6 separate regions of the Homo sapiens genome follow, and all the other regions are linked to region 1. The links are contacts of gene promoters, found by promoter capture Hi-C in blood cells and fetal thymus (Javierre and others, 2016). All regions are on one chromosome and are shown on one strand. Each heading gives the region's core, a stretch centred on a gene start or on the middle of the fragment in contact. The rest is flanking DNA. Distances are from core to core; before and after follow the strand shown. Region 1 holds the start of SLC36A2 (solute carrier family 36 member 2). Region 2 holds the start of ATOX1 (antioxidant 1 copper chaperone). Region 3 has its middle 14 kb from the start of ATOX1-AS1. Region 4 has its middle 32 kb from the start of SPARC. Region 5 overlaps LOC105378231 (a long non-coding RNA gene). Region 6 has its middle 30 kb from the start of FAT2.

Evidence for each region. Contacts are between HindIII fragments. The CHiCAGO score rates a contact against its expected background, and 5 or more counts as called.
Region 2: a contact is called between a fragment that was not itself captured here and the fragment with the promoter of SLC36A2 in region 1, in 1 of 17 cell types (M2 macrophages). The highest score is 5.3, in M2 macrophages.
Region 3: a fragment that was not itself captured here is called in contact with the fragment with the promoter of SLC36A2 in region 1 in 1 of 17 cell types (M2 macrophages); the score reaches 8.2 in M2 macrophages.
Region 4: a contact is called between a fragment that was not itself captured here and the fragment with the promoter of SLC36A2 in region 1, in 1 of 17 cell types (M2 macrophages). The highest score is 5.1, in M2 macrophages.
Region 5: a fragment that was not itself captured here is called in contact with the fragment with the promoter of SLC36A2 in region 1 in 3 of 17 cell types (M1 macrophages, M0 macrophages and M2 macrophages); the score reaches 8.2 in M1 macrophages.
Region 6: a fragment that was not itself captured here is called in contact with the fragment with the promoter of SLC36A2 in region 1 in 3 of 17 cell types (M1 macrophages, M0 macrophages and M2 macrophages); the score reaches 8.3 in M1 macrophages.

What each region holds. Positions count from the first base shown.
Region 1 is chr5:151,345,368-151,349,387 of GRCh38, reverse strand. It overlaps SLC36A2 (solute carrier family 36 member 2), which reads left to right and starts at 1,829. Exons shown (of 10, transcript NM_181776.3): 1 at 1,829-2,091. The coding sequence starts at 1,928. It also overlaps a transcript of SLC36A1 not described here. RefSeq lists an enhancer at 1,403-2,316. The HindIII fragment of the contact is 1,251 bases long and covers 890-2,140 here.
Region 2 is chr5:151,754,655-151,758,674 of GRCh38, reverse strand. It overlaps ATOX1 (antioxidant 1 copper chaperone), which reads left to right and starts at 44. Exons shown (of 4, transcript NM_004045.4): 1 at 44-129. The coding sequence starts at 124. It overlaps ATOX1-AS1 (ATOX1 antisense RNA 1), which reads right to left. Exons shown (of 4, transcript XR_007059008.1): 3 at 1,604-1,737; 4 at 315-386. RefSeq lists a silencer at 1-105 and an enhancer at 876-1,005. The HindIII fragment of the contact is 3,647 bases long and covers 1-3,459 here.
Region 3 is chr5:151,737,498-151,741,517 of GRCh38, reverse strand. No RefSeq gene overlaps it. Among named protein-coding and RNA genes, the nearest start is that of ATOX1-AS1, 14 kb to the left of the region's middle. RefSeq lists enhancers at 767-816, 274-817 and silencers at 556-850, 616-910, 1,076-1,370. The HindIII fragment of the contact is 1,479 bases long and covers 1,402-2,880 here.
Region 4 is chr5:151,717,136-151,721,155 of GRCh38, reverse strand. No RefSeq gene overlaps it. Among named protein-coding and RNA genes, the nearest start is that of SPARC, 32 kb to the right of the region's middle. RefSeq lists enhancers at 1-60, 131-310 and silencers at 553-662, 1,594-1,888, 2,882-3,082. The HindIII fragment of the contact is 1,566 bases long and covers 1,391-2,956 here.
Region 5 is chr5:151,645,663-151,649,682 of GRCh38, reverse strand. All of the region lies in intron 1 of LOC105378231 (a long non-coding RNA gene), which reads right to left. Among named protein-coding and RNA genes, the nearest start is that of CLMAT3, 29 kb to the left of the region's middle. The HindIII fragment of the contact is 1,284 bases long and covers 1,210-2,493 here.
Region 6 is chr5:151,619,169-151,623,188 of GRCh38, reverse strand. No RefSeq gene overlaps it. Among named protein-coding and RNA genes, the nearest start is that of FAT2, 30 kb to the right of the region's middle. RefSeq lists enhancers at 2,425-3,101, 3,102-3,780. The HindIII fragment of the contact is 597 bases long and covers 1,844-2,440 here.

The DNA.
Region 1 (4,020 bases), core at 580-3,079:
AGAAGACCTCCTGCCTGCTAACATGTGGTGCAATGAGTTGGGGTGTGGAGCCCCACCCTACAAGCTTTTTTTTCACTGACGATGCCTGGGAAGAGCTCTGGCCAAACACTGATATTCCAGCCACCCCTTTCCAAAAGGCCTGAAGATAATTCAGAGTTCTTCTCAAAACCTGGAGAGGAAGGCAAGAACTAGCTCATATCTAAACATAGCAAGCTCCTCAACAATCTTATTACTGACCTTGCTCGAGCAGGAACACAGAGCTCCACCTGCGACATCAAATCTGAGATTACAAATTTAAATTGTGGAATCTCAGGCTGTAAACGAGCAGGTCACAGGATGCAGCCTGCTACTTCACAGACCAGTAATACTGCCATGTAATGGTGCCAGACAAGGGAATAACACTTCTCAAATCACAGCAAGTGTTTCAGTTGATTCAGGACAAGAAGCTGGCAGGGTGGGGCCAGCATTAAAACAAAGGAGACAGTGCTGTGGTCAAAGCTGCAGGCTTCAGAAAAAACAAACAAACAAAACAAAAAACAAACAACAACAACCAAAAAAAACCTGGCTAGCGGGGAGTTCGGATTTACCGAGTTCCAGCTGTGACCTCCAGCAAGTTATTCTTTTCCTCTCTGAGCCTCAATTTCCACATCTGTAAAAACAAACTAACAAAGCTAACCCACAGAAGTAGCCAGGCTTTGTGGAGCTTGAAGCTTATCCCATGGAGAAGGGGAAAGTAGTGGTAAGGAGGACCTCTTTAAGAAAAAAGCAATACAAAATTGTCCATTCAAAATTGCATACAGGACCTTGGAAAGAGCCCCATGTAAGGGAGGGGCCTGACAAATCTGTCTTGGATGCTACCAGTTAGCAGTGACATTAGCTAAGCAAAGCTTGTGGCATGTAATAAGCCCTTAAGAAATGTTAGTTTTGGGGATGAGATGATGGAGGAGAGAGTGGTATGGCTTGAGTCAAAAGCTGTAATTTTGAGGGAGGAGGAAATTTTGGCCTGTTCATCTGCACTGAAGCAGAGATAATGACAGAGAGTGGGATACTAGAGAAACGCCCAAGACCATCTTTAGCTGCAGAGTTCTATCCTGGATTTCATGTGTGACCTTAGACAAATCTCACCACCTCCTGGCGCCAGTATCTTGCCCAGCAAACTGTGGCTGGGAGTCATACAATCTCAGCCTCTTCCCCGTTTCCAGAAGAACACTCTTTACTCACTCCATGGAGCCTCACAAAAGCTAAGAATTAATTAGAGATGACTGAGTGACTGTCCCTTTTTTGTTCCAATTTAAGAATGGGGTGCTGCAAGAAGGGATGTCTTACAGCAGACTGTGGAGCCAGTGAGACATGGAAACCTCTACCCTGAGATGAATAAAAGGAGAGGGATTTGTAGGTATTTTCTTGGAGACAGAAATAGGTTACTGGTTGAAAACCTTGACAAATTGGGCTAGGTTCCAACTCTGTCACTTTCTAGCTATCTGACCTCGGGCAGATTCCTTTACTTCAAGAAACCTCAGTTTTCTCCTTACTTAATTGATAGGGTTAAATGAGAAAATGTAGATAAAACACTTAGAGGATTGCTTATCCCTTAGTACAGGGCTTAATAGATATTTGTTATTAAAATTATCAGTATAATAGTTATCATTATGATTATTATTAAGTAATACCAATACGAATGGGTGATGCCTTTTCCAAATCCCTCCTTCCTCTCCTCCTCTTCCCAGGAGTCCTCGTCCACTGGCTTCTCCAGGCAGGAAGAGGTGCCCTCCAGGGAGGTGGGCGGGGCCTCGTTCCAGCTTGGCCAGAGCCAGCCCGGGCACACACCACTGTGCTGGGGTGTACATCTACACTAGACACCTTCCTGCTTCCCTCCTTCCAGAGCAGACCTCTTTGTCACCCCGAGCTCCTTGTTTCTTAAGCAGTCATGTCTGTGACAAAAAGTACTGAGGGTCCCCAGGGAGCCGTTGCCATCAAATTGGACCTTATGTCGCCTCCTGAAAGTGCCAAGAAGTTGGAGAACAAGGACTCTACATTCTTGGATGAAAGTCCTTCAGAGTCAGCAGGCTTGAAGAAGACCAAGGGCATAACGTGAGTGCTGTTTTCTGCCATCCCTATTTCTGCTTTCTAGCCTGAAGCTTGCATTGGCAAAAACCCTGAGGTGGGTGTGTCTGACCCTCAACCCACTGTGCAGATGAGAAACCAAGGTTGCAAAAGGTGCAGTCATGGGCTGAGTCAAGCTGAGGCAGAAGTAAAGGCTGTCAGAAAAGCCCTTAGGGACATAGTGATCCAGATCCCAAAAGGCACAGGTGGGGAAACTGAGGCTCAATTACCCTGGACCACATACTGAGTCATTGGCAGGATAAGGGCTAGAATTCAGTGCTGGCCCTAAAGCCACATTTTTGTTCCTGGCCAGCGATGTTAAGATTGGGGATAGAGGTAGAATCCCTAACTACTTGGAGGAGAAGGTGAGTCCTGAGCTTAAAACCACAGTGGCCTCACTGACCACTAAGTATTTCCTCCTCCCTGCCTCCTTCCTGCAGTAAGCCTGGCCTCTACTTCAACTGAGAAGCATAGATGACTCTAAAAAACACACTTTGTGGAAAGTTCTAGTTTTTTCCACTTTCCAGGGAGTGGGGAGTGGGGGTTATTCACAAGGCTTCCAAAACATAAAAAAAGAGGGAAGCCAAGCTACAGGGCTGCAGCTCCCTTCCCCACATCTGACCCCACCACCCAACCAGACTTGCTAGTTTACTTAGGAACAAAAGGTGTGGGGTGTGGTAGTGAAGAGGTTCTGCTGCTTTAAGAAGAAAGTTTTTGCACCACTAGATAGTAGAAAGAGCACTGGACAGAGAATCAGAAGGCCTGAGTTCAAGTGGTTTCTCTGCTCCTTCTCTAAGTTCCAGTTTTCTGACATGCAAAACAGGTGGCAGTGTGAACTAAAGGAGGGTGCATGGAAACAAAATCGGAGGATGTGTTTCTCGGGGGTGCACTGCAGGGAGGGACTGTAAGGGGCAGGCAAAGCCCCTCCCCACAGCCATCCAGCAGGACAATTTAGGGATGGACACAGTGACTGGCCCTGCTGCCTGTGCTGTCGCCCCAGGGCTAGTCCTGGAAGTTGCTAAGTATTAGTGACCCTGAGAGTGTGCTGTCTGTAAGTTGGGGCCAGCCACTGCTAAGTAGAGGCATTTTCTCAGTCAGAGGCCTTGAGGGAACCACCTGTCTCTTGTGTCCTGAACTGATACAAGGTTTGATGGCAATTTCAGCAACTTAAGGATCAAAGGAATAAAGCAAGTGAGAGCTAAAGGGAGACACGTGGCTTGGGGAGAAGCCAAATAACGGGCTGAGTAAGCGTGGCAACGATGGGGTTGGCTCACCCAGACTCGAATTCCCACTTAGCTGCTTACCAGCTAGAGCAAATGCTGGAACTTCTTTGTGTCCAGTTTCTCCTCTGTCAATGATAGTTCTCTCCTCCTGGGAGATTTGAGCATAAATACCCCAGACACAGTGTCTGTAAGTGTTGGCTGCTGTGAATAAGATGACAGTCCAAGGTGACCAAAAAGAAAGGAGTTAGAGTTGGAGCCCATGTCTCCCAACTCCCAGTTTGGTGCTTTGCATGACTTACCGCACTATGTTTTCAAGTTGGTTGAGTGGCCCAAAGTTAAATTCTGATTTCCTAAGTACTTTAGTTAGAAATTTCCAAAGTAACCCGCTGACCCTTTCCTAGTTGCAAAACAAGCCCATTGCTAGCCTGGCGAGTAGGGTGTAGTGCTCGGTCAGCGATGTGGACACCCACAGGGAGAAAGGCATGCAGGGACTCTCCACCCCCTTTCTCCCTCGATTGTTCTCTTTAACCCTTGATGAATCTATGTACAGAGACTCAGGAAGCTAGAGGGTTTACAGCTTCAATATGAAGCTTCCTGAGCCTCTGCCCATAGATTCTTTTAAAATAGCATCTTTTAAAAATAGCATCACTCCTGACATTTACAGAGGGTCAACAAAGTTGAACACGTTGCCCAA
Region 2 (4,020 bases), core at 387-2,886, 410 kb before region 1:
GGGCCTCCGGGACCAGGCCTCTAGTGCGCACTCTCGGAAGCGCAGCCGAACCCGCCCTCCGAATCCAGAGAGGCGCTGCTGACACCGCCGCCACACCGCCGCCACACCGCCGCTGCCTCAGTCATGCCGGTGAGTGGTTGCGCCGTCCCCGCCACGCAGACTTGCAGTCCCGGGTTGCTTCTCGGCTGCACAGCCGCTTGACCGGATGCTGATCTTGAAGGGCTCAGGCGGCGGCCGGAGCCGCTGTTGTCCCCTAGCTTACCCCACCCAGCCCCCAGCTTTTGCGACCCTTCAGAAAATGGGATCCGAAGGGAGTTTAATCTGGGAGCCAGGCTTCAAAACGTCGGAGCTGGAAGGCCTCCAGGGGCGACAAGCCCACACCTTCCCTGCGTACACAGAGAAACAGAACCAGAGAGGGGGCAGGGGATGGGGGAGTTGGTGGCCAGCGGGAACTGAGACGCCTAGTCCCTGAGCCTTCCTCCTGGCTGCCCTGCCCGCGGAGCTGGCCTGAAGGAGGGCGGTGGGGAGGCTCTGGACAAGGGAGTGGACCCGGTTATTTCCTCACGGACCGGGCAGGTTTTCAGAGGTTCATGCTTTTCTTAATTTCCCTGCCCACTCTGGCCTACTTTTCAGATCAACTCTGGGCGACACTGAATGGAGACACTTTCTCAGCCTGAACCCATGAGCCCCAGAGAGGTTCAGGAACCCCCCCGCACAGTCACCAGTTGCTCAGTGGCTGTGTCTGGGAAGTCAGTCTTAGCCTGCCTTTGCAGATCACTCAGTCTTATCACATATATTGTTGCTCGTGGCCTCGTTTTTTATATAAAGAATTGAGGCCTTTGGCAGATAAAAATATAAAAAGCCCAGTAACTTATTCCAGGTCGTGTTGAAGTTGGCAGAGCCAGGATTCAGCTCCTTATCCTTAGGCTCCCCATCTCTCCAGGCCTGACCACATGGGAGGTGCCAGGCAAAAGCAGTCACACCGGCTTGGGAAGATGCTCTGATCTCAGTTGCATCTTGGTTAGGGTCATGTGGTGTTTAGCATTTTCTTCAGGGTGCCTAATTCATGGCTCTGGGCCAGGTGGATACCCAGAGGTATCCCACAGTTGCCATGTGTCTTTGCATCCTGTCTTTAGGGAGCTGGCAGGTGAGCCTGAGGCCTCCTGGGCAGAGCCACTGACATCTCAGGTGTCATTTCCTGTGGGTCTTGCCAGGTGCCTTGAGACAAATCCTCCAACAACAAAGTATGGATAAGGAATCTGATAGAATCAGCCCTACCAGTTGGGCAAGTCAGCCTGTGGCAATGGTAGAAGACAGTATTAATTGCCCTGGGGCTTGGGGAGTGAAGGCCACCAGGATTTTTTGTGGGGGGTGGCAATGAGGAAAAGGCTAGCTTGATCATCACTGTATTCTGTATCTTCTGGGGATTTTGACAAAAAACCCTCTGGAGCAGATGATGGGAATGAGGAGGGCACTTGGCACCATGTACCACAAGATAACAGCTGAAGGAAAGAGGGTGTTAGTCAAGGGATTTCCTCAAAACTGGAAAGGGAAGAAAAAAATATATCTATATACACATACTGGAAGGGGAAGAGTGTGTTACCTGAGAGTTTTCTCAGACAAATGCCCGAGAGCACAGGGTTTGGAATCCCAGAAACCTCTGAAAATCTGTGCCCCAGCTTGCCAACTGGGTGACCTCAGGCAAGTTGCTTTATCTCACTGCCTTGATTTCCTCATCTGTAAGATAGGGACAAAAACTTTGACCTCACAGGACTGTTGTTAGTATTAACTGGAAAAATGCCAGTAAAATATGTCACACAGCCACTGATATATCTAGTCCCCAAGAAATGGTAGCTCCTGTGTAGACGTAGGACAGGTGGGCTAGAGCTATAGGCAGGTGAGGCCGGGCATGGTGGCTCACGCCTGTAATCCCAGCACTTTGGGAGGCCCAGGCGGGCAGATCACTTTAATGCAGGAGCTTGAGACCAACTTTGGCAACATGATGAAACCCTGGCTCTACAAAAAATACAAAAAATTAGCCAGACGTGGTGGCCCGTGCCTATAGTCCCAGCTACTTGGGAGGCTGAAGTGGGAGGATTGCTGGAGCCTGGGAGGTTGAGGCTGCAGTGAGCCGTGATCGTGCCACTGCATTCCAGCTTGGGTGACAGAGTGAAAGTGAAACCCTGTCTCAAAAGAAAAAAAAAAAAGGAAGGAAGGAGAGAGAAAGAAAAGAAAGAAAGAAAGAAGAGAAGAGAAGAGAAAACTATAGGCAGGCAGCTTTCAATCCCATTTTAACAAGATCTCAGTGGTTAAGCATTGAGGTTTTAGAGGCTGACTATGTTCAATTCAGGCCCTACTCAGCCGAATCACCGTGAGTGTGTGAACTAACCCCTAAATCTCAGTTTCCTCATCTGTCAAGAAGGGATAATAATAGGCCAGGTGCGGCGGGTAATGCCTGTAATCCCAGCACTTTGGGAGGCTAAGGCAGGCAGATCACAAAGTCAGGACTTTGAGACCAGCCTGGCCAACATGGTGAAACCCCGTCTCTACTAAATATACAAAAAAATTAGCCGGGCATGGTGGCGGACGCCTGTAGTCCCAGCTACTCGGGAGTCTGAGGCAGGAGAATCGCTTGAACCCAGGAGGCGGAGGTTGCAGTGAGCTGAGATCGTGCCACTGCACTGCAGCCTGGGTGACACTGTGAGACTCAGTCTCAAAAAAAAAAAAAAAAAAAAAGAATCATCCCACTTACTGACTTTAAAAACCTACTTTAAACCTACTGGCTTTTAAAATCTACCCATTTTATAAGTCTTTATAAAAGACCCCAGAGGCCATGAGGAACCAGAACTACCCAGTTATGCATCTGGTGGTAGAGCCAATCTTGAGATTCTCCTATAAAGAAGTGATTACTCTGTCCATGAAATAGATTTTCCATCACCCTCAAATTTATTTTTGCCCCTCAGAGGTGGAGGAGGAGAGCACTGAACTGTAATGTTTATACCCAGAAGCTGGTTTCTGGCTTCTGACCTTTATACTGTGGGGGATGGGACCTACTCCCTGTAGTCAGCGACAGAAAGTTTCAGGTATCTGTTGACTTTAGGTCCTTGGGCAGCAAAAAACTGTGCTCCCTAAAAATGTGTTTCTAGTTTCAGAGCTTCTGCTGAGAGTCAGGGTTATGAGGGCTGGCGGTGTACTTTGCTTTTCCAGAACCAGCAAGATTTCCCTGGAGCGAAGAAAGCCTAGGTTCATATTCCATACTCAGTAGTTATTTGCCACATGACTGCAAGCTACCTAGTGAACTCTTGGGAACTTCACTTTCCTCCTGAGTGAAATAAGATAAATAGCTCTCTTTCCAGGCTCAGTGAGGACTAACTTAGATACTGTACAAAGATAATTTGACATGTAATAGACAATCAGTAGATTTAGCTCTTATGTTGATCTTGCAAACCCTTCAAAGCTTTGGCTCAGTATATAAGTACAAACCATAGATGAATTGATTTTCTGCTGGTTATCCTAGAGCAAGACTCAGCAAACTTTTTTTTTTACACGGCACCGATAGTAAACATTTTAGTCTTCACAAACCATAGGGTCTCTGGTACAACTACTCAACTCTGCCATTCTAGTGCAAAAGTAAACAAATGAGTTTGGCTGTAGTTTTTTGTTTTTGTGTTTCTTTTTTTTTTTTTTTTTTTTTGGACGGTGTCTCGCTCTCTTGCCAGGCTGGAGTGCAATGGCATGGTCTTGGCTCACTGCAACCTCCGCCTCCTGGGTCAAGCGATTCTCCTGCCTCAGCCTCTTGAGTAGCTGGGACTACAGGCGCATGCCACCACTACCAGCTAATTTTTGTATTTTTAGTAGAGATGGGGTTTCACCATGTTGGCCAGAATGGTCTCGATCTCTTGACCTCGTGATCCTCCCGCCTCAGCCTCCCAAAAATGCTGGGATTACAGGCATGAGCCACCACACCTGGCCCGATTTGGGCTATGTTTTAACAAAACTCTTTGTAAAACAGGTAGTTTG
Region 3 (4,020 bases), core at 892-3,391, 390 kb before region 1:
GAACCCGGGGGGTGGAGGTTGCAGTGAGCCAAGATTGCACCACTTCACTGCAGCCTGGGTGAAAGAGTGAAACTCTGTCTCAAAAAAAATTTAAAAATTATTATCAAACAGTTTTGGTTATGTGGGTTATACTACATTAGAAATTAAAACAGGAATTTTTAAAACAAAAATACCCAGGCACACATCCCATTAGTCATTAGGACTAGATGAAGTCACTGCATTCCTTTAGACTCTAGAAAACTTTACCGTACAATTGTTAAGGAGGAAAAGGCATCTTACAGAAGCTTTTAAATTGAACCTCATGTGCCTTCTGAAAGGCTCTTGGGGGTCACATGTTGAGAATCACCACTTTAGCCATTTATTGGGCACTTACTGGGGACCCAGGGCTGCTGGAGACTGGAATAAGATCTGGCTCTGCATTTGACCAGCTCAGACATGGAAGCAGCCACCTCATCTATCTCATGGACAGTTTCCTCATCTGCCCAATGCATAATTGCTGCACCTCGGGGAACTGAGTAGCCAGAAATAACACTTTATTTCAACTCTAAACTGGTTGCAAGCATAATTTCCATCCCTTTCTATCCCATTATGAAAGTACTAAACAAATCTCAGGGCCATTTCTGCCTTCGTGGCCCCTCCGGGGTGCAGGGACTCCTTCCCAGCCCACCAGGTAAATGTGTTTCTTGACCACCAGATGGCAGTGTCTCCTGGACTTGACCATCCACAGAGACGTTTAAGACAGTTTCTTCTAAAAAAAAGTTTCTCTGGGCTCTGAGAGAACAAACTTGAGGATTTTTTCCATTTTCAGTTGCCCTAGGAGGTCTGGCTGGCCCACTGGGAACGCCCAAGAGTTGAGACACTGGTGTCTCTTAGAGTGAGTGCTTCTCAGAGGGGTTCATTTCCTTTGAGTTCTCTCTATACCACCACCCCCAGCTGAAATCCAAGTTTCTAGCTGAGGCACTTGGCTCTGTTCTTCCAAGGCCACAGAGGCATTAGGGAAGCTCCCACGCCTGCCATCAGCCCAGCTGGCTGTCCACGGAATGAATGAATCACACAGCGGAGCTCAGGCTTCTGCAGGGGTGGGGGTGGGGAGCAGACGTGGCCACGTATTTCTCCGAGGCTTCCCTGTGCACTTGGCCCCAGCCCACCCTTCCAGGCTTTCTCACTCCTCGCTGCAGCCAGCCAGCCCGCTCCTCAGGTGCCTTGCTTTTATTCATGCTGCCTGCCCCCTGTAAGCGGAATGATCTCCTCCACCAGCCTCCCTTGTCTCCATATACAAATTCCTTTCCCTCCCTTGCATACCACAGCCTCCATGAAACCTCTCCACAGCTGGAAGTAATTTATTTCTCCTCTTGGCCCTCAAAGCATTTATCACACAAATTTCAGTGTTGTGGCAAAGCTTTCTGTCCACGTATCTTTCCTGGCCTCGAGGATCAGCCCAAGTATCTGTTCCCTCTGCACACAGAGCAAGGACTTAGGGGATATTTGATAGATGAGTAATGGCTACTATTTGGGGGATGCCTATTTAGTGTGTCATGCCCTTGCATTTATCTCATTCCATCCTTACCTAGACTGCATAAGATAGTGAGCTAGGACAGACCCTCACACATGGTAGATGCTCAGTAGGTGTTGGTCCAGATAATTTGACAAAGGAAGAGATTGTCTCTTCTAATCTTTCTAGCAGGTTTATATTTTTGTCAAAGATTCCTGGTTGTGAGTACAGCCTACCCTAGGGTGTTCCCAGTAACCAGCCCTTGTTTCTGGGCTTGATGGGGTGAAGCTCCCACCAACTTTGCCTTGTTGACCTACCCATTTGCCTGGTGGCCAGAGCCCGGGCTTGTCCAGTACCCACATTACCATGACTGGAGAGAAACCACCTGGCCCTCAGTACAGGGTGAAGCCTGGGGGCTGTATGTGGGGGAGGCTTCCTTCCTCACAGTGGTGTGAGCCACAGGGGGAGCTCTGGCCTGGCCTGGCTCCCCATCAGCGTGCTGAGTGAGCTTGAGCAAATCTTTTGAATTTTGAAGTGGGGTGTGTGTGTGTGTGTGTGTGTGTGTGTGTGTGTTATTGTTGTTGTTTTTCTTTTTCTGAGACAGGGTCTCTGTTACTCAGGCTGGAATGCAGTGGCACAATCTCCATTCACTGCAATCTCCGCCTCCCGGGCTCAAGCAATCCTCCCACCTTAGCCTCCCAAGTAGCTGGGACCACAGGCACACACCACCATGCCCAACTAATTTATATATATATATATATTTAGAGACGAGGTTTCACCATGTTGCCCAGGCTGGTCTCAAACTCATGTGATCAAGCGATCTGCCCACCTCAGCCTCCCAAAGTATTGGGATTACAGGCATGAGCCACCACACCCAGCTGAAGTTTTTTTTTAACTGCTTTTTTGAGGTGTAATTTCATTCAATAAACTGCACATATTTAAAGTGTAAACTTTTTTTTTGCTATCTCCTACCTAAAGAATAAAGTGTATAATTAAGATACATACATATCTAACACACACACACACACACACACACACTCATGAAACCATCACCACAATCAAGATAGTGACCATATTAATCACCTAAAAAGTTTCCTGGCACCTCTTGGTAATCCCTCCCACCCTCTCCTTGCCCCCAAGTAAGCACTGATCTGCTTACTGTCACTATTGATTAGTTTGCATTTTCTAGAGTTTTATATAGATGCAATCACACGGTATGCTCCATTTTTGTCTAGCTTTTTCATTCAGCATAATTATTTTGAAATGTTATCTTTTTATCACTGAGTAGTAAGTATTCCGTTGAATGAATATACCAGAAGGTGTGATTCATTCCTCTGTTGAAGGACATTTGTTTCCAGTTTTTTTAACTGCTCTGGTGCTATCAAGCTTTCCAAGGGCCCTACAGGGCACAAGGGGAAGTCTCAATGAGCTGGCCTCTTCGAAACCAACACACCCAAACCCAAACCGAGGCAGCTTAACTCATCATTTTATTTGTATCTTTTAATTTGTTTTTATTTTTTAGAGATGGGGCCTTGCTCTTTGGCCCAGGCTGGAATGCAGTGGTGCAATTACGGCTCACTGCAGCCTTGAACTCCTGGGTTCAAGTGATCATCCCTCCTTGGCCTCCCGAAGTGCTGGGATTACAGACGTGAGCCACTGTGCCTGGCCCAACTCACAGTTTTATCTACTGGGCTTCCTCCTACAGCCCCAGTGGTACTAAGCCACGTTCTGGACTTCAGCAGATCCGGATTTAAATTCCTTCACCACTTAAAAACTGTGTGACCTTGGGAAAGTTCCTGATTCTTTTGTGCAACTCAGTTTCCTTATCTGGAAAATGGAGGTCATAACAGTACTCTGACCATGGTGAGAATTAAAGATCTTCATGTGCCTCATTCTTGATAATGACATTCCACAAATAAAACTTTCTGTTTGGCCAAAAAGTCACAATTATACGACTTGAAGTTTGAAAACTGAAGTCTGAAAAATTTCAGATCTAGATTCTTTCAACCCTGGCAGATTAAGAAAAGTAAAATGGAACCTCAAGATTGTGCCATGTGGGAGGTGAATGGTTGTTCAGGTCACCGCCCTCTCCATGACTTTCGCCTTTAATTAGTGCCAGTCTCTAAAAGACCCAAGTCTGTAATTTCTTGGGAGTGCCCATCAGAGCTTCTTTTAGATTTCCATGTCTTTAAGGGCTGTGGCCACTTAGTTTAAGAAGACAAGTTTTCTAATCTGCTTCTTCGGAGAAGGAAAGTCTTCATGTCCCTAGGTAAATCTCATGACTGCTGACTAGGGCCTTGCAATAAAATCAAAGCCTCTAAAAATAAGGATGTCACCTCCCATTGGTCTGTTTATCATGGGCTCCAAGGATCTAAATCCCCGGATGCCTAGAAGTAGGCTGTATGTTGCATAAGAATGCTGGCTCTGCAGATAAACAGACTGTTTACCAGATGTGTGAGCTTGAGCAAATAGCTTAACTGTCCAGGACAAATTAGCTGGGCATGGTGGTAGGTGCCTATAGTCTCAGC
Region 4 (4,020 bases), core at 924-3,423, 370 kb before region 1:
GCAGAGACTACACTTTAGCCTCTATGCTAAGAACTACTGCCTCCCACTGTGTGAGGACAGACTTTACTATGGGAGCAGGAACACTTCATCACACCACTTAGATGTCACATCCCTTCAGATCACCCTTTGCTCCAATTCTGTACTCCTTCATCAACCTCTTGATGTCTAATTCAACACCTTGGCATAGGGAATAATATGGCTTTAGGTGTAGAAACAAACTTTCTGCTAGTGCAAAAGCTCATCCTCCAGATGAGGGGGATGGGACATGTTGGTATTTTCCAGGAGCATCTGTCTTTCTCTGTGCAGCAATCCCCCAACACTGCAAACTGATCAGACGGAGCTTCAAAACCTGCAAAGGTTATGACCCTAGGTAGTGGGGACCACAACCTGTGGAGTCCTAATTAGGGAAAAGGAGTCAGGCTGGTGGGAGCAGGGGAAAGAAAAAAGAAAAAGTAGATAAGCTATACATCTGCCTTTCTTCATGGTCCAGGACACATAGCCCTCCTGTGCAAATAACTCACAATCTTCCTGTGCCCAACTATCACCAGACACCTCGGCTGATAGAATAATGTACATTAGCTCACTGCAACCTTGGCATTATCTGTACTGTACAAAGCCCTCTTCAGCACACAGCACAAGCACCATCCTAAAAAATCCCCAGCAAGCCTTTGACTCCTTGCAGTCAGCTACTCTCTTGCTGACTTACCCATTGCACCCTTGCAACATACTTTCATACTTCCTCTAACAAATCTGCTTTGCTGACCTACAACTGTCTTGGTAAATTCTTTCTACCACCTGCGTAGCACTGGCCCAAATAGTCACTACCTGAGACACAACTTCCCTGAAAAGCAGTGCCATCTCTGGGAGCTGCCCAAGCAACCTTCAAGTCTCTCTTTGCTGCAGCTTTCTAGGTTGTGCACAGTGGCACTACAGCAGCAAGGCCTTCCTGCCTGCTATCACTTACTTTTCCCTAGGCAAAGGGGCTGGGGGAAACATCCATTGGGTCTCCTGGACAACAGGAAAGTCTCAGGATAAGAGGCACTTTGGAGAATCACTGGAGCAACTCTAGCAGTTCAGCTAGTTGGCTCTTCAGGATTCTCCTTGTCCTCCAGCACAGAAGGCTTTTAATCCAGACAGAGGTGGAGGGAGGGTGGGATGAGCTAACGGGCCTGAGAGGAGACTTTGTATCTTAGAAGACATTCCAGAAGGACCTAGAGACAGAGGGTGTTGTTTTTGTCCTTATTCCGACAACTCTTCTGAGAGGATAGTTGGGGCTGGAGGATGCTGTGCAGCCTGTTTAGAGGGCAGGGAAGTTGAAACAGTGTGAGGGAACCAGTAGAGCTGACCTCCTGCCTCTGTAAAGAACATGACCCTGGGAAATCCCAAAGCTTCACATGGCCCAGTCTGTGAAGAGCCACATTGAAGAAAACAAAGTGTTACAGTTACAAATCATTTAAAAGTGCTACAATCTTCATTTTTATATCTCTAAGAGTATTAAAAGGGATCTAATTAATAATTCATAGAAAACTCCATTTCAGGCTGGGTGTAGTGGTTCACGCCTATAATCCCAGCACTTTGGGAGGCCAAGGCAGGAGGATTGCTTGAGCCCAGGAGTTAGAGACCAGCCTGGGCAACAGGCTCTATTAAAAAAATTTAAAAATTAACTGGCATGGTGGTGCACACCTATAGTCCCAGCCACTAGGGGGTGCTGAGGTAGAAGAATCACTTGACCCTGGGAGGTTGAGGCTGCAGTGAGCCATGTTCGTGCCACTGCACTTCAGCCTGGGCAACAGAACGAGACCCCTGTCTCAAAAACAAAACAAAAAACTCCATTTTGACCAGACACTGGTTCATGCCCGTAATCTCAGCACTTTGGGAGGCCAAGACAGGAGGATGGCTTGTGACCAGGAGTTCAAAACCAGCCCTGGCAAGATAGTGAGACCCTGTCTCTACAAAAAATTTAAAAACTAGCTGAGCGTGGTGACATGTGCCTGTAGGCCCACCTACTTGGGAGGCTGAGGCGGGACGATCACTTAAGCCCAGGAGTTCAAAGTTATAGTGAGCTATGGTTGTGCCACTGCATTCCAGCCTGGGTGATAGAGCAAGACTCTGTCTCAAAAAAACAAAAAAACTGAGATCTTACTGATTCCAGAATTTTCTCATGCTCACATTGATGCTTAGTCTTTCCCCCACTCACCTCCCTGGCCCTCTCCAGGAAAGAGAAAAAGTCTTGAAGAGGCCCAGCCCCTTGAAGAATGTAGTTCTTCACATGCCTCAAAAGAGTAAGGGCCAACTACAGTTTGCTAAAAGTTGGAGGAGCTTCCCCTACATAGTTTGGCCACAGAGTCATCCAAATTATTTTTGTGACCCAGACAGCAGCCCCAGACACTGCATCAGCTCGGTTCTGAAGCCAGAAGAAACTTTCTGCTCTCCGTAAGGCTCCTCTTCACCCCATTACATTCCTTTTCTCTCTCCACCTCCTGCTTTAATGTTCCCCTGCAGCCACACGTAAGGAATATCATCTTCTTTCTCTTAAAGGGACAATTATCGTTCACCTTGTCTCATAGATGTGAGACATTTACCTGTTGAGTAAACAGGATGTCTCCTCCGAGTCAGAAATGGATTTCTTCTGTTGAAAGGGATAGAAAACCCAACCCAAACCAGTATAAGCAAAAAGGCTTATGGAAAGAAAAAGTCCAGGAGCAGGGCTGTATATTACATAGGATTGCACTCTGCTGTGTGTCACAGAAACCTGATTCCAGCAGCTTTTATACCACTTTGCAAGCAATCTGGCCATCTGAGGATGACGCTGGGTCCATGCCATCATCAGGCTGCAGTTCCTTCTGTCAGCCTTTCCTTGTGGATTCCATTCTCCTGTGGCTCCACTTTGTCTTACATATGCCATCCAAGAAGGAAGAAGAGGGACAAAAAGCAAAGTCTCCCTCTTTCACAAGCTTCCCCAGAAGCTCCATGCACTGATTTCTGCTTACAAGTTCATTGGTGAGAAGCATGTCCCATGGCCTCTCTGCACTGCAAAGGAGTCTAGAAAGATTAGTATTTTGAGATGGACACAGAGCTCCCTAAGCAGAATTGAGGGTCTGTTGATTAGGCAGAAGAGGAGAATGGATGTTGAGCAGACAAATAACAGTGTCTGCCCCAGGCTAGCTTAGGGGCTTGGACCAGTGTCCCATGAGTATCTTTCTGTGTCTCTGTCTCTATCTTTGTCTTTCTCTCTCTCTCTCTCTCTCTCTTAGTCTCTCTTTCTCTGTCTCTCTTTGTCTGTCTGCCCTTTTCTGTCTGGCTCTGTTTCTCTCTGTTTCTCTGTCTCTTTCTCTTTCTCTCTTTCTGTTTCTCTGCTGTCTCTGTTTCTCTCTGTCTGTCTGTCTGTCTCTCCACTCTATTCTCTTTCCTGTTGGCTTCATGTTCATGCAGCCTTCCCCTGTGGTCTCAGGGAGGCTCCTGCTACTTGGGATCTCACATGCATTCCTAGTCAAGCCCAGGAGAAGGCCAGATTCTCTGTTGCAGTCCTATATCCCATCTCATGTCCGTCCCTGAAAGAGTTACTGTGGCCCTGGGGAATGGCATGGCGTAGGCTAGTCACATGCCCTTTTTCTAAGTGGGGCTAAGAGTGTAGGAGAGGGTATTGCCCAAGAGGAAAATCAAGGCACAGTTCCCGAGAAGGGGAAATGGATGCTGGTGGCCCCAAATCAAACTCAATAAATCATAAACAAACATCTACTGCAGAATCTTAGACATCATCCTATTAAGAGATATTTAAATCACTGAAAGTGTATCAGAGCTTCCCTAAACATTTGGTTAAAATAATGTTGGTTTTTTTTTTGTTTTTTGAGACACAGCTTTGCTCTTATTGCCCAGGCTGGAATGCAATGGCACAATCTTGGCCCACTGCAACCTCCACCTCCCGGGTTCCAGAGATTCTCCTGCCTCAGCCTCCCAATTAGCTGGGATTACAGACGCCTGCCACCATGCCCAGCTAATTTTTTTGTATTTTTAGTAGAG
Region 5 (4,020 bases), core at 602-3,101, 300 kb before region 1:
TTCCACGTTCTTCTTTCTCCCTGTCTAGTCCTAGGAGAGTGGAAAAGGCATGAGGCCACCCTCCTCAGGCCAGGAAACCTAGTTCCAGAGGCGGCCCTGGATCCAAACCAGTGTGGGAACCTACCTAAGTCCTTCCCTCCCACCCTATCTGTTTTCCCACCTGGTTTAGCAACTGCCTTCCCTCCTAGGGCTCCAACTTCATAAGATGTTGAGATAACATCTTATGAAGTCTTTTGCCAAAAACATGCCTTTTTCTGCCCCTGGAAGGAATTAGTTTCACTTGTTCTGAAGAAGAGTCTCTGCAGGTACTTGTTACTCCTGCCAAGAGACCTGAGAGGCCCCAAATTCCTCAGCACCCGGATCCCAGATTCGCTTAATCTGACGCTGCTCGCTTCCAAGGGGCGCTGAGATGATGGAGTTACAAGCTGCTTAAAGGCTTACAGAGTGTCAGCTTGAAGGGAGGAGAGAGTGAGTGAGCGTCTGCCTCCACTTGGCTTGGCCTCTCGGATGAAAGAGCTTGGGAGAAGGGAGTGTTTACAGAGATCAATAAAGACACCCTGGAGGGGCCAGCACTCCCATTGGGCTTCTCCAAGAAGATTTAGGATTGACATCATTAAAGCCCCTAGGGAAGACTCTTCCCAACCCAAAGTCTCTTAACACTAGATTCTCAGATCCTGAAAGCACATAGGGCTTGGGAAGAACTATAGGGACTGCTCCACCTTGCACAGCTCTGGAGGTCTTCATTTACATTGATTACAAAGTGAATGGTGTGCCAAAGAGGCACAAAGTGGGCCAGGTCCAGGGGCTCACGCCTGTAATCTCGCACTTTGGGAGGCTGAGGTGGGCGGATCACCTGACGTCAGGAGTTTGAGACCAGCCAACATGGGGAAACCCTGTCTCTACTAAAAATACAAAAATTAGCTGGGTGTGGTGGCACACACTTGTAATCCCAGCTACTCGGGAGCCTGAGGGAGGAGAATTGCTTGAACCTGGGGGGCGGAGGTTGCAGTGAGCTGAGATCTCACCACTTCCCACCAGCCTGGGTGAAAGAGAAAAACTCCATCTCAAAAAAAAAAAAAGAGGTACAAAGTGGTGCTGGTGACAATATTACAGCAGCTAGCATGATCATTTAAAAAGGTACAATTAACAAAAACAAAACAAAAACCACCAATGACTTTTTGTTACACTCAAAACAAAATCCCTAAAGCTTTTCATGATTCAACCCTATTTTTCTCTTGAATCTCATATCCTGCAGTAGCTAAGTTCCAGACACATTGACCTTATTTCTGGTCTTCAAATGTACCCAGTGGCCTAGCTGGTTCCTGCCTCAGGGCCTTTGCGCAAGCTGCCTTTAGCTCTTCCCAAAGCTGGCTTCTTCTTGTTAGGAAGTGTTCTCCTAAAACACCACTTTCTCAGGGAGGGAGCCTCTAACCAGTCAGTCTAGAATGGTCAGTCGGTGTCTCCAAGGTTGCTCTGTAAAATGGGAGTGGTAATCCTCATCTTACCTTCCTCCCTGGGCTCTTTGTATTCATTCCCACCTTATAGCTTAAGTTCCATCTGCAAGGAACTTGTGCACCCCCCTTTTCTCTTTTTTTTTTTTTTTTTTGAGACGGAGTTTCATTCATGTTGTGGTCCAGGCTGGAGTGCAGTGGCACCATCTCGGCTCACTGCAACCACTGCCTCCCAGGTTTAAGTCATTCTCCTACCTCAGCTTTTCGAGTAGCTGGGATTACAGGCGCCCCCCGACCACCCCCAGCTAATTTTTGCATTTTTAGTAGAGATGGGATTTCAACATGTTGGCCAAGCTGATCTCAAACTCCTGACCTCAGGTGATCCGCCCACCTTGGCCTCCCAAAGTGCTGGGATTACAGGCCTGAGTCACTGCTCCAGGCCATTGTGCACCTTTTGAATACATTGTTCGTTTCCGTAGCACATTATTTCCAAACCACTTACTTCACTCATGCTTGTATCCACAGAACCTGCACCATGCCGAGCACTTCAGAGATACTCAAAAATATTTGTTGAACACTGAATCAAGTCAGGGCAGTCTGGACACCCTGCAAACTGTGAAGTGCCCTACCTCCATGATAGCCACCACAAATAGCAGAGAAACAGAGTGAGTCAGGAGGAACCTCATGTCTCCTAGCTTCATGGGTAGTTCTTAAAAAATAGAGAACTGCCTCATAAATTGTGAGCCCGGTGGCAATAACTCAATGAAACCCCATCACACAACAAAACTGAGGTTCTCCCAAAAGGGAAGATGACATGGCACATGAGTCATTGAGTTGATTAAGAAGTCAGTTCTCACCCCTGCTAGGCCAGTGCACCCCAGTGTCTGCTGAATAGAAAATGAATAGAGGGCCAGGCACTAAACGCCTATAATCCCAGCACTTTAGGAGTCCAGGGCGGGCAGATTGCTTGAGCCTAGGAGTTTGAGACCAGCCTGGGCAACCTAGTGAGAGCCCATCTCTTAAAAAAAAATATAGCCAAGCTTGGTGGCACACTCCTATTGTCCCAGCTACTCTGGAGGCAGAGGTGGGAGGATTGCTTGAGCCAGGGAGACAGAGGTTGCAGTGAGCTGTGATGGTACCACTGCACTCCAGCCTAAGCGACAGAGGGAAATCCTGACTCAAAAAAAAGAAGGAAGAAAAAAAAGAAAGAAAGAAAGAAAAAGAAAAGAAAATCTTACATACCTTAGGTGACAATGTATAGAAAAACTTAAGATTTACTGTAAGAGCAGAGGAGATAACCTACTTCCATCTGTCCCTCAGAAGCTGCCACATGCCTGTAATTTCCAGCCATTATCCTCTCATGAGTCCTGGGTGTGCTGTCCACAGAGGACCCCTATGAAAAAGAACTTTAGCAACATCTCATGCCTTAGAAGAGGTTGTTTCTCCAATAAGCCATCTGAAAAAGTAAAGAATGGGGTCCTGAAGGGGAAGGGAGTTCCAGGCGATGGTGGTGTTTGTTATATAGGGGGAAGTTTAGGGGTCTGGGCTCGTGGGTAAGAGAGTGGGAAGGAGGTGTGGTATCCATGCCAACCTCTGCCAATCTCATTTTGCCCCAGGCCACCCTCACACTTGAACCACAGAGAACTGTTCAAATGCCAACTAACAAACACAAGCAGCAACAGAGAGCTGTGTGTGCTGGGGATAACCAGTCCCACGGGTTTGGGTGTAGCGGTGGTTTGGGTGTAGCGGGAAGCAATGCTTGGGTTCTGGAACAGATGGCTTTTAGGAAGCTGAGGAGGAGAGAGAGGGCTACCCCCTACCTCCCTGTGCCACCCTGCCCACCACCCCTGCAACCAGGGCTTGTTAGCCACAGGAATACTTGGCATCAGAGGCACCTCCTGGGGGACTAGACTACACAATGTGAGCCACCGTCCTTTCATCTTGCCTGCCTGAAGGGTGGGGTGGGGTGGACCCAGGGGGCTGCCTCTAGTGCTTGGACAGCTGGGATGGGCAGAAAATGAGCAAGTTCAGCAAGGCTCTGATATTCTAGCTAACACACTCAGAGCTGTCCACACCCTGCTCCCTGCGGTCAACAACTGAAAATACCTACAAGAAACCCAATGCAACAAATAATGGCACCAGTAGAATGGGACCAGATAGTCCCTGGTTCTGTTGGAAAGGTTTGTTCCATTCATCCTCTGCTGCTTCAGGGATGGAAATGAAGCCCAAGAACGTTGCCGGAGCTTAGTTTGAAGGGTGCTGAATAGGCCTCCAAAGTGCATGTAATTTTGCCTTCCTCTCTCCTTAGTCAAAGCCTATCTGCTTGTAAAGGCTCAGCTAAAGTCCTTTCCGGTCCACAGCAAATTTCTGCCCTCTGAGCTCCGGTGGCTGTTTTCTTCACCTGCGTGTTACATAGGCCACCCTGTGTCACCATTGATTATGACATGTCTCCCCAACTCATCCTCAAGCTCCTTGAAGTCGGGGGGATCACGGTGCCTTCTTTTATACCCTGGCACAGTGCTGAGCACACAGTAGGAGGCCCTGATCCAAGTCTGGAGCTGGATGGAAA
Region 6 (4,020 bases), core at 893-3,392, 270 kb before region 1:
GACAGGGTGGGCTGGGTGAAAGAGATTTCAGTGGGCCAACCATACAAAACAAAGGACAGGAGACCCCATGTTCCCTGCTGCCCATCCTCATCTCCTGGCTTGGATGCATTAGAGCAAAGCCTCAGTGTAATCATGGGCATTTGGATTGTTTACTCCTCGTTAACCACCCTCTTTGCTCACTTAATTGGTCCAAAGCCTGTGGCATGAGTAACTAACTGTGCAGCGATTTGGCACGTGGTCAGCCAGCAGTAGCAGCCGTAATTGCACAGCGAGTACTGCACTCATACTAACTGGGTGGGTCCTGTGCAGTTCCCACACGGTAATGGAGCTCAGACAGGCGGCTGCCGCTGCCTGCAGCACCTTTGATGTCCTGGCAAACACACCCATGGGACTTGCTCAACCACAGGATCTTCACTCTTGGCTTCTTATGGGTGCCCAACTAGTCTCCCAGGTCCCATGCTGTCTGAGCATCTTACACAAGTGGGCAGAGAAATTCACACCCCTGGTTTAGAGGGAACTAAATCCAAGTTGCGAATGCATGGCCTGGCTTCTGCCTGCCTGGCCACCTCCCCTCACACCTCTCCTCCTTGGATTGCTCTGTTACACTCACCTCCTGCCTGCTTTCCCGTAAAGGTCGTGCCTCAGGCCCTTTGCACTAGCTCTTCCCCCCATATCTTCAAACGGATACCTCCTTCTTATCCTGCATGTATCAGCTGATATGAATAAATGAAGGAATTGTATGGCTGTGGGCAAGTCCCAGTCCCTCTTGGAATCTCCATTTTCCCCTCTGACAAGTGAGTAGATGGATTCAATCTCTATGCTCTTTTCACATGGATATTTGATGTCTGAGCATTGTGCTAGTCAATGAATGAGGCCACAAAGATGTTTGGAGACTCTACTATGCACTGAGCTCTGGGTGCTAAGTAGAAAGTAGTAAGGAAATAAAAGAGAAACACGAACCTCAAGGGGCATGGCGGGAGGAGACTGACAGGCAGTAAACATACACACAAAGAAATAAGATGATTTCTGTTATTGATAAGTGCTCTGCACATAAAAGTAAGGGAATATGATGGGCAATGAGTGATGCAGGGGTTTGGTTAGTGTTGTCAAGGAGGACCTCTGCGAGGAAGTGACTTTTGAGCTGAAATCTGAAGGATGGGAAGCTGGGAGCAAACATTCCAAGGAGGAGCAACAATTTCAGAGACCCAGGGAAACAAACAAGTGCGTCATCTTCTTGTAGTGGAAAGAAGGCGTGTGCATAAGGGGCAAAGTGGAGGGGAAGGACGTCCTGTGGGCAGGAGACAGATGGCGAAAGTCTTGTCCAGGGGCCATGGTAGGGAGTGTGCGTTTCCCACTAAGGGCCATGGGAAGTCCATGGAGGGTTTTAGCAGGAGAGTGACTTACTATCTTAGAGCAAATCACTCTGGCTGCTCCTTGGAGAAGAGACTACAAGAACAGTCATCCAGGAAAGAAAAAGTGGTGACTGGGTGTAGGGCGAGGGGCTGAAAGAAGTGGTGAAATTCAGGGCATGTGTCTCGGAGGTAGAGCTGTGAGCACTCTCTGATGGGTGAGATGCACTTGTGAGGGACGGACAGATATGTGGGATGCAGTTGGTACATGTCTAGTAAATTACAAACACGGCCCGGGGATCCTGTGGGGCTCTGGTTTGCCAAAGAGCTCAACTTTGGGATTCAGGCACATCTGAAATAATAGGATGACCTCCGTATTTCTCACCTGTCACTGCCCTTGAGGGGAGGAACCGTGTGTATTTTATTTGTCACATTAAGTGCCTAACACAATCCCAGGCGGAGTGGCACTCAGTCACTAAATTGTCCCTGAAGCTTCATCTCTCTCAGGGATCTCACAGGAAGGATGGGAGGCTGTTTCAAGAAGGCATTCCTGGGTTCACAAGCCACATGCTCTCTGATAGTCCCATCAGTCCCATGAGTAACCAAGCCCAGTAGGTGAGACAGCTTTGCCCCATCACCCACTGCTGTCCCGGGTCACCCAGAGCCCTCTTCCTGGGCCTCTGCCCCCTCACTGGCTGCAGGAGCCCAGGCTCTCAATTTGATGCACTCTGACCACTTTCTCAGGTCAAAAATATGTTCATTGCTTAAAATTCACCAATAGACTGGATCTGTTCCCCCAACCTCCTCCACCACCCCCCACCTCTGCTTCTTTTTCTGTGGGTCACGCTGCGTTCACAAAGACCTTTGGAGACTGGGAGCCTGTTGTACATGAAGGGTGGAGTGTCAGTTGTACGTGGGAGATGTTAGGGGCAAGGGTACATTGCCAGGAGGTGGTGTTTATCCAGACTTCTCTCTGCCAAGGGGCTTCCCACTTTGTCTATGATTAGGACTGGTGCAGGAAAAAAGACACTTCTTGTTCAGAAGGTCCCCTGAGAATTTCCCCAGAGGGAAGGCTGCTGTCCCAGGAAGCTTCTCAGGAAAGGGACTCCAGACTTTGCATTCTTGGCCCCGCCTGACATGCAGGCTTCGCCCTGTTTCGGGGCTGATGAGAAAGCACGGCCCCAGGCACTGGGGCTTCATATTAAATTCTTAATAGCCATGGTGGGTTTGATCCCACACTCCCGAGAGAATTAGTCACTACAGGTTCAAGTGAGGAATTTATGGACAGGCCTCAACAATCTGCTTCTAATTTGGGGATGGAAACTTTGATTTAAGAATCCCAAAAGGCAATATAGTATGCACAGAGGAAGGAGCGCAAGGTGGGGAGGCCTTGATTCCGGTCATTGAACACACTTTATTCATTTCTGTGTCTGGCACTGTCCTAGTCGAGGCCCCTTCCTGTGAGTCGAAAGCTATGTTACCTTGGGCAAGTTCCTCCCCATTTCTAGGCTTCAGCTTCCTGACTGGCAGAAGGATGGAATGCAGCTCCCTTCTGGCTTTTGTTGGGGGTGGAGCGGTGGGGGGCTTTGATGCCATGAGTCTGGGTCTATGAAGGACAAATGGCATCTCCAGCTGTGGCTGCTCCCAGGGAGGGCTCCCCTATGGAAAGTTGGCTTTGGTGGCACAGCAGTTCCTGGAAGCCCGTGCATGCCTGAGATGCATTCATTACCCCCTGTCTGGAAACCCTGCCTGCCCTCCTGCTGCTGGGGAGGCATGGAAGGGGTTAAAGTTGCTGTGCAAGGAAGGAATAGACTCACTCCTTCCCCTCCCTTGTCAGGTCTTCTCCCCCTTTTGTTCTCAGGGATTTGCTCAGCTTGCTGGGGTTAGGTAAGCCTCCACTCTGGGCTGGGAGCCGCCACTCTGCTGTGTGGAGAGAACAGAACTGCAGCAACTTGCCCTGGCTCTTCCCCCAGGCAAGAAATCTGAAGCTACCACAAGGGGTGGGGAAATCTTGGAACCTGAGACAGTGGCCAAGCTGGAGCTAGAAGTGTCTTTAGGTATCACTGAGCCCAACTAACTCCTTTTGCAGGTGGGGAAACTGAGGCCCAGAAAAGAGACATTTGTTGGGTTCGCAGCTAGTTAGGTGGATTCAAATGCAGGTTTTCTCAATTTCTGGGCCTGCTCTCTTCACAGGGTATAAAGCTCTAACACAACAATGGAGGTAAAGTGTGGAACCAGTGGTCTCTTGGGGGTCCCTCAGGCTACTTTGTCACATGGCTCCATGGCTCCTGGACAATACATGAGTTGACCAGTTGTCAGTCATCTCAGGATGTGGTGTCAGGGAAACACCAGGATCCTGGAGGCGTGGGGACTCTTTCTGACTACCTGTGAGCTGAATGACTCTGGACACATCATGTCACCTCTCTGAGACAGTTTTGCCACTGCAAAATGGGGCCAGAATCCCTGCTTTCCCTAATTCATAGGTGTCTGTGTGGAATAATGTACTTTGAAGACTGCAAAGCTCTACATGTGCTCTGCATCCATTTCCCCTCCCTCTGGTTCTGCCCCTGATTTTCAGGAGGGGTTCAGTCTACTTTAGTCTTTAAGCTTAACCAGTGGTTGGGGGCAACGGACCCAACCTATGCTCCAGAGTTGGGTGTGAGACTTGGCT